3 separate regions of the Homo sapiens genome follow, and regions 2 and 3 are each linked to region 1. The links are contacts of gene promoters, found by promoter capture Hi-C in blood cells and fetal thymus (Javierre and others, 2016). All regions are on one chromosome and are shown on one strand. The core of a region is centred on a gene start or on the middle of the fragment in contact, and the rest is flanking DNA. Distances in the headings are between cores, read along the strand shown.

Region 1 (2,674 bases), core at 109-2,608:
ATTTAGTGAGCTGAAGAAAAAAATGTTCAAACCCTTATATGCATTTCCTTAAGTTCCTAGAATACCGGAATACTGACACATATGATTGCACTATTTCCTATCCGTCGAAGATGATTCTGAATTTCACTAAAAACCGCAAAGGAAACCAATAGTCACAAAATAATTCTGATAACCCCACCAAAGAGGAAATAAAGAGAGGAAGTTACTCTAAAAGTCTGATAGGGCAAAAGTGACTGCAGCAGAAGGGCCTCAAGGTTCAGTCCATGAGGACCTTGATTAACCTTCATCTTTACGCCCCCACCCCATCCTTCCGGGTCCTCCCCCTTCTTCAACGACTGGCTTTACAAGGCTCATAGGAAAGGTGCGTGTATTCAGACGGACACGATTCCAGCTGTGGCTCCTCCACTTTCAGGGTCGCTGTTTCCACAGTTGACAAGCAGGAGAACCATACTTGTTGCACTTCCCTCACTGGGCTGCCGCCAGCATCATATAGAAAAACGCTGTCCCAACATAAGCCAAAGCCACCATGACTGGGATAGTCGCCAAACAGAACTCAGCTTCGGTTCCCCTCCCGGCAAGGCTGGTTCGACCTACAGTCAACAGGAAGCTCCTGGGGGCAGGGACAGGATCCCTGCCTCGGAAGGAGGCAAGACGTGAACGTTTTTTGGACGGCGATCAGGATGGTGATGAGGGTGTGAGTAACGCCCCCGGCTCACGCGGTTGGGCTTGAGATTTTACTACCAACGACAAAGGGTGCGGAAGCGTAGCGCTGAGAAGCAAACAGCCAACCAAAAAAACTCAACCCCGTCCTCCCCCACAAAAGCAAGCCCCAAAGCCCTGGCCACTACTGAGAGCTGGGCCAAGGAACAGAGAAAGGCAGAGGGGCAGAATCGGAGCGCTCCATTCAATCTCCGCGGCAGCCGAGCGTCGGTGGGTTCGCGGGTGGGAAGGGACGCCGCGGGCCTGCTCTCCGGGCAGGGAAGCACCTCCTCCTCACGCCCCCTCGGCCTGCACCGCCCCCGGGAATCCGCCCCGGACCCCGCCGCCATGTTGGGTCGGGAGAAGTGACACGGACCGGTCGCCTATCCTGACCACAGCAAAGCGGCCCGGAGCCCGCGGAGGGGACCTGACGGGGGCGTAGGCGCCGGAAGGCTGGGGGCCCCGGAGCCGGGCCGGCGTGGCCCGAGTTCCGGTGAGCGGACGGCGGCGCGCGCAGGTACCCGCAGCCCCCGCCCCCGCTAGAAGTCAGGGGGCGGGGCCGGGGGGGGGGGGCGGAGGAGGTGGAGAGTGAGGCCGAGGCGTGGGGAGCCCGGGAACTCCCTCCTCCTGAAGTAACGCGTCCCGGGCCGGCTCTGCCGTCGTTGCTGCCGCCGGGCGCCCCGGGACGAGGAGGTGGAGGAGGGAGAGGGCCCGCGGGCCTCGCCTCCGCCCTCCGCCACCTCGAGCTGCGGTAGCAGCGACTCATGAGAGCGCGGCCGGAGGACAGGTAAGGACCCGGTGGGGCCCCGCGGGCGGAGGGTTCCACCTCTGCCCGGACAGGGCTAGGCCCCAGCGCCCGGAGCCGCCGCCGCCGCCGCCGCCGCGGTTCCCCGCCCCCGCGGGCCCGAGTCGGGAAGTTGGGAAGAAACTTCTCCCCTCCCCCGGATCGCCCGGCGGGCTTGTCTCGTTCCCCGCGCTACCTGCTCGCCCCTGACTCGGTCTCTGCCCTGTCCAGACCTGCCGGGTCCCGCCCAAGTCCGACCTGAGGTTCCAGGGGCGTGGGGACACTCCCCACCCCTTGTCTTTGGGGTCGTGTGGACCGCCCGGCGACGGGGAGGAGAGGTTTATTTTTGCCCCTACGGCCGAAGTAGGGGCGAGGGAAGCGGCCCCTTTGGGTCCTAAAGGCTGGGGGTCTGTGTATCGGCCGACGCCGGTAGCAGCTGTGCGGGGAGAGGAGCGGGTGTGTGGGGCGAGTGGATGAGCCTTTCTGGCTTTACTTGGTTTGATTGAAAACCGCAACATGTTTAAAGTTTTCCTTTGTTTTGGGTTGGGGGTTGGGAAATTTACCATTCAGCGTCCACTTTTACGGAATCATGCCACTCCGCCTCCCGTTGCGTTCGGTTCCCTGTCCACATGTGTTAAAGAAAATTGTCTTAAAGTGTGTTTTTCTTCTTGATAATTGCTTCCAGCTTTCACTTTATTGGGCATGGGGCAGAGCTGTTTTAAGAAGCTCTTTGAAAATCAAGTCTGGTGTAGGGACTTTAGTTTTTGTTTTGTAATGAGTAGGACTTAACAGTTCGGATTTGGTTGAATCATTTTCTGCATAATTAATTGATACAGGCGTGGAATAACATACTGTATAATTATAAATTACTAAAGGAAATAATGAAAGTCTTTGGTGGAAGCACAATTTTATGTCCATTTATTATGTATATACGTTCCACGGGTGTGTGTTTTCACAGTCGATTTCACATGATATGATTATAGTATCTTCATGTATTATAACTGTAAGATTACAGTGCCAAAGATACCTTGATAATTTTAAATATTTAAACCATCCTGTTACACTTCTAAAGTTAAATTACGCACTAAGGAAAGTATTACTAAATGTATACACGTGACTGTGCATTTAAGGAAAAGTGCATGGTAAATCTAATATCTTAACTATCACAGTGCTTGGCACACGGTGGACAGG
Region 2 (2,674 bases), core at 118-2,617, 1.8 Mb before region 1:
AGATATTCACAGCAACATTATTGGTCAGTTGAAAATTTAGGGAAAAAATTAATAAGGGGCTAGCTAAATAAGTTATATATATATATATATATATATATATATATATACTATGTATATATGTAAAATAAAAACACAATAGAAGGATTGCTCTCTCTACATTTGTATGAAAAGATATCCATGATATCTTTTCTTGAGAAAGACAGATTATGAAAAACTATGTATAATTTGGTACCATTAAAAAAATATATGTTTGTATATCTGGAAGACACTCCCTAAACTTTAACCATTGTTTCTAGTGATGGGATTATGGTGGATTATAAGGTACATTTCAGTTCCCATTTTATACATTTCTCTCGAGTCTCTATTGTTTCTAATGAGTATTTATATTATGAACAAAAAATACTTTTTCCTTTAAAAAATTAAAAAGTCACTTTATTCTCAAAGATGCAGAAACTAAATAAAATTGGTTCAGTTTTTAGGGCGCCAAGGTCAACTGACTAGAATTCAGTAGTGAAGTTTTTTAGTTTTTTGGTGAGTTGGAAGTATTTACCAAATGTGACCTTTTCAAAAAGCTTGCATAGGATTCATTCAGCAGTATTTTCCAGTCTGAACAACAGGAAATTTTATAATATTTTAATTAAGATTTTTTCCCATGAGCTTCAAGGAAGCCTTATCTAGGTCCTTATTTCACAGATGTATTAACTATGCACAGGCAAAGTAGCCCAAATTAATCATTTCTAAGGTTTGTGAAGATTAAGTATCATAAAACCTTTCATTTAAGTGCGTCAGAGAGTAAACTCAAGCATTGTCATGGAGGATGTGTGAAAAAAGAAAAATGATTACCAATGTCTTATATTTCACATTTAGATCATATTATGTGGTATATTTTCTAAACATTTCACACCGTTTAAGAAAACAAATAGGTCCTAAATATAACACAGGCAAAGAGAAAAGTTTTCAATTCCTAATACTTTGTTGACATAAGTAAAAAATATTGGCATAGTTAAAATTTTCACATGAATTGTGTAAGTGGTAATGAATAGAGTCATCTGAATACTTTAAGTAAAATGCTGGTCAGACAGTAGAATGTTGAAGAATCAGTCTTTTTATTTTACCCACCTTCTAGATTGCACGTAAACAGTCTTTGGAATTTGACCAGGATAGTCAGTTTACAATGACTCTTGGTGGGCAACTACATATTCAAAAGACCTTATTGGGGTTCAGGCTTTAGCAGTACATAACAATAAATCTCTACAAAAAGGTAGGAGAGATTCTGTTTAGTTTTGCAAGGATACTGAGTCATATGCAAGTATAAAATACCAGATAAAGGAAAAGTAAATGTTCCTTTTCTATGGTAAAACAGCCCTAATCCAGAAAAATGTCCTTTAAAGAACAAAATAAAATGACTCCTTACGATAAACTTTGGCAGAGAAAACTAACCCAAGATACAAATTATAGGATATATATAGCTTAAAGATTTTGATTTTGATGTCAGAATATGTGACTCATCAAGCAATCATGACATAGCTTTTGATAACCTACGCAAACTGTGGCAAAGTTCTTACCTTAATTTTTTGTTGGTAAAGATCATCCAGCTTTTGAACTTCTTCTTTCAGAGTTCTCACACTTCTCTTGCTTTCTGTTATCATTGCATTCAACTGGGGAAATAAAACTTTGGTTGAGAAATCATAACTATACATCAAAGATATTTTAACAAGTTATAGAGTTTTTATATTATCAATCAACTAACTGAACAATGTTATTTCTTCTAGTCCTTTTGGACTCTCACTTATCATTTGTCCAAAAACTTTATTATTCTCCAAAGAGAAATTAATTTCAAAGAAACCTCAAAGTTAACGATGTTAATATCTGTTTTTCCACTAGTTGTTGTGGGAGTGCTTTTTAAGCTCTCATATATATTATATATTATTAATATTGTTATATCAATTTATTCATATATAAATAATTTTTGCCTCTGGATTTGAAATCTAGCTTTATTTAGACTATATCTACTACAGCTATTTAGCTTTTCATTTGTATGTTCATTTTCTAAAATGTTAAAAAAGAATTGTTTGTATTAATTTTATTGGATGTTTGCTATTATAGTCATGCATTCCTTCAAAAAGTAATAAGGTAACCACATTTAATCTTGTTAAAGCTTGAACTTTAAGATCAGTTGAAACCAAAACTGAAAGAAAAAAGTGTTTTTCAAGTTCATTTCCTGTTGGCAAGTGCTGATACCAGTTGATGTCAGCAATTAATAGAGAATGTTCTTCAGCTATACCAAGAGGAAACTGTTTCCTGCAGGAAACACAAAAGAGTAAAATGTATAAATAGCTGACTTTTTTTTAAAGGATAATTCTACACACATATGAAATTAAAAAAAAATTTAGGGGTTCAAATTTAGTGAAGCTATTATTATTTGCTACAAAACACAGGGTAGTGACATATACAACTAGCATACGCCCAGAACTCAAAACCAGATCTAACACCAAGAACTTTTTCTAAAGGTATGTTATATCTGCAGTAACTAACAAGTTAAACGAGTTGTTTTAAATTCACTTGTAATAACAACAACAGATACTCAAGTAACCAGAACTTCCACTGATTCTCATGGTTGGTCAAAAGCATGTTTACTCATCTCTGAGCAGCTTCTACTTTCCATGTCAGCATT
Region 3 (2,674 bases), core at 50-2,549, 1.7 Mb before region 1:
ATCCCTATAGATTAGAAATCCCATTTTCTTCTAGAAACATTCAGATTATCAAATTTACCTTATACATGTTTGAGGATATATTTTCTTACATGTATTTGGTTATTTAGTTGTCAGTGAATTTGTGAGGGTTGTTTCACTCTGCAGTTGGGAAACAGCAGTTCAAAGGCGTGCTCACACATTCTTTTCATTGTAGTACAGAATTATTTTACTGTAAGTGTTAAGGATATTGATTTCAGTTTATAAACTCAGATATTCAAAGCACAGTCAATGTTCTTTTTTAATGTCAACGTTCTTTTAATGTACTTAAAATTCTCTTACAGATCAGGGAGCTGATTTTGGATGGATCTTTACAGTTGATCCAGGAAGGTCTCAAAAGTGGTTTTCTTTATCCACTTTTTGAAAAACAGGACAAGGGTAGTAAGCCCATTACTTTACCACTTGACGCCTGCAGTTTGTCAGAATTATGTGAAATGGCAAAGCATTTGCCTTCTCTGAATGAAATGGAACATCAGACATTACAATTGGTGGAAGAGGATACATCTGTTACAGAACAGGATTTATTTTTGCGAGTTGTTGAAAACAACTCTAGCTTTACAAAAGTGATTACTTTAATGGGACAGAAATACCTGCTACCACCGAAAAGCAGTTTTCTTTTATCTGACATTTCTTGTATGCAACCACTTCTAAACTGTAAGTAATTATTGTGTTTGTTATTAGAAAAAGATAATTTTTCCGTGGGCTGAAAAGTTAAGAGCTAGTCTGAAATTTGAAGATGGGTCAGCATTTATGAGGATAGGGTAGACACTTTTCCTTGGGTTATTTGTCTCTTAGGTTTAATTTTAAGGTGCTGACTTTTGCTTTTTTTAAAAAAATAAATATTGTGAATAAAGAGTCAAAAGCTAATTTCTAAGAGAACAAATATAGTTACTTCTCTGTACTTAGGAATTCGGTATGCAGTTGTGTTTAACCAAATCACTTTTTTTTTTAACTTTTTTTCATAGCAAAGTAGAAACACTTCAGTTATGAATATCAATTCCCACATCATTCCTAGCCTTGTATAAAGGATACCATTTAGGCTAGTGTTCAAGCTCATTGTCTAAAATTTCTTGAAACATTTCCGTACAAAGTTAAAAAATTTAAATATTGAAGTCCGCAGTCACACAGACCTGTATTTGACTTTAGATTCTGAAGCTTATTTAACTGTGAGTCTTTGGGGTATTCATTTCACAAAACCGAGCCCCAGTCTCCAATCTATAAAATGGACATGATAATACCTGCTGCTTAGGGTCATTTTGAGGTATATTGATCAGATTGAATTTAATGTGCTGTTTATTGTTATTTGGACATTTTATAGCAAAATTTTAAGTTACTGAGCAACTACAACACAACTTACTAATGAAAAGCTTCTTTTAATTGCTATCAAGCCATCTTACACTTGAGTGGTTATCCATGTAGCAGTGCCATAAATTCTTCAGAGTAAATGACAGGATAACAAATTAATGAGAAAACCATTCTATGCATGCACATTTTTTCTCTTCTTTTTGATCTTTGTTACTCTAATAGCTTAAAAAGTGTCACTTCTTTATTTTAATTTGCATTCTTTTGATTACTTATGAGATTGTACACATTTACAAAAATATACCTATGTTTATAAAAGGGGGAGAAAGGACAGCTCTTCCTTACAGTAAAATTCCAGTTAATAAATGAATGGAATGATGGATCTAGAGAATTTCCATCTGACAAACACCATAATAATTGGATGTCAAAATAGTGGATGAAAAGATGAGACAGGATATTTTCATGGTCTTAAAGTATCTCCTCCCAAGATACTTGTTAATTACAAGGGAAAAACTGGTGAAACTCAGCAGACAACACTTTAACCAAAGACTCTTTAACATCCTTTATCTCCTGATATGTTGCACTGATAGGGCATGGCAGGCATTACTTTGGTGGTCCTCTTGCAAAAAATAAGTAATCTAAATTTAATCATGAGAAAATACTAGACCCAGATTGAGGGACATCCTATAAAATAATTGGTAGCCTTTAAAAGTTTCAAAATCATGAAAGACGAAGAAAGACCGAGGAACTTTTCCAGGTTGGAGGAGAGTTAGGAGGGATGGCAGCTAAATGCAATGTTTGATCCTGGCTTTGATCCTGGGTCAGAAAAAGTACATTAGTAAATAATTGGGGAAGTTTTATTATGGCCAATAAGTCAGTTGTAAAGGCTGAAATTATTTTAAAATAAAAAGTAAAAAAAAGACCTAGATTTCTTAGAACTATATTAATATGGCTGCCAAGACGCATAGGGAATTCACAGATCATTAGTGTTCAGCTTACTGAGCTGTAGTCATCTGCAGATAGTCTCTGCAACAATTGCAATAGGTAACATTATGATACAATTCTAGAGGTAAAGGAAACATCTAATATTTAATGATAAATTACTCTGTTTGAATAAATGCTATATACAGATCCCTTTGGTGCATTCCATTATATTCGTGTCCGTAGTGAAATCACTTGAGTTTTGAAGAACATGTTTAGTTTTTAAAGTGATCACATAGAGAAGGTATTTTCTGAAATTGTATCTTTGTTTTCAGATAGGAAAACATTTGATGTAATTGTGATAGATCCACCATGGCAGAACAAATCAGTTAAAAGAAGTAATAGGTAAGTGGAA

What was found. The method cuts DNA at HindIII sites, captures the fragments that hold promoters and counts their contacts. A CHiCAGO score of 5 or more calls a contact.
Region 2: a contact is called between a fragment that was not itself captured here and the fragment with the promoter of YES1 in region 1, in 1 of 17 cell types (naive CD8 T cells). The highest score is 5.2, in naive CD8 T cells.
Region 3: a fragment that was not itself captured here is called in contact with the fragment with the promoter of YES1 in region 1 in 1 of 17 cell types (total CD4 T cells); the score reaches 5.4 in total CD4 T cells.

The regions. Positions count from the first base shown.
Region 1 is chr18:810,926-813,599 of GRCh38, reverse strand. It overlaps YES1 (YES proto-oncogene 1, Src family tyrosine kinase), which reads left to right and starts at 1,358. Exons shown (of 12, transcript NM_005433.4): 1 at 1,358-1,486. RefSeq lists enhancers at 156-697, 698-1,240 and silencers at 972-1,481, 1,532-1,591, 1,662-1,751. The HindIII fragment of the contact is 10,737 bases long and covers 1-2,674 here.
Region 2 is chr18:2,605,399-2,608,072 of GRCh38, reverse strand. It overlaps NDC80 (NDC80 kinetochore complex component), which reads right to left. Exons shown (of 17, transcript NM_006101.3): 14 at 1,566-1,658. Among named protein-coding and RNA genes, the nearest start is that of NDC80, 35 kb to the right of the region's middle. The HindIII fragment of the contact is 1,586 bases long and covers 575-2,160 here.
Region 3 is chr18:2,552,685-2,555,358 of GRCh38, reverse strand. METTL4 (methyltransferase 4, N6-adenosine) reads left to right here. Exons shown (of 9, transcript NM_022840.5): 4 at 321-690; 5 at 2,595-2,664. It overlaps LOC124904380 (small nucleolar RNA U109), which reads right to left and starts at 1; the gene lies at 1. The HindIII fragment of the contact is 212 bases long and covers 1,194-1,405 here.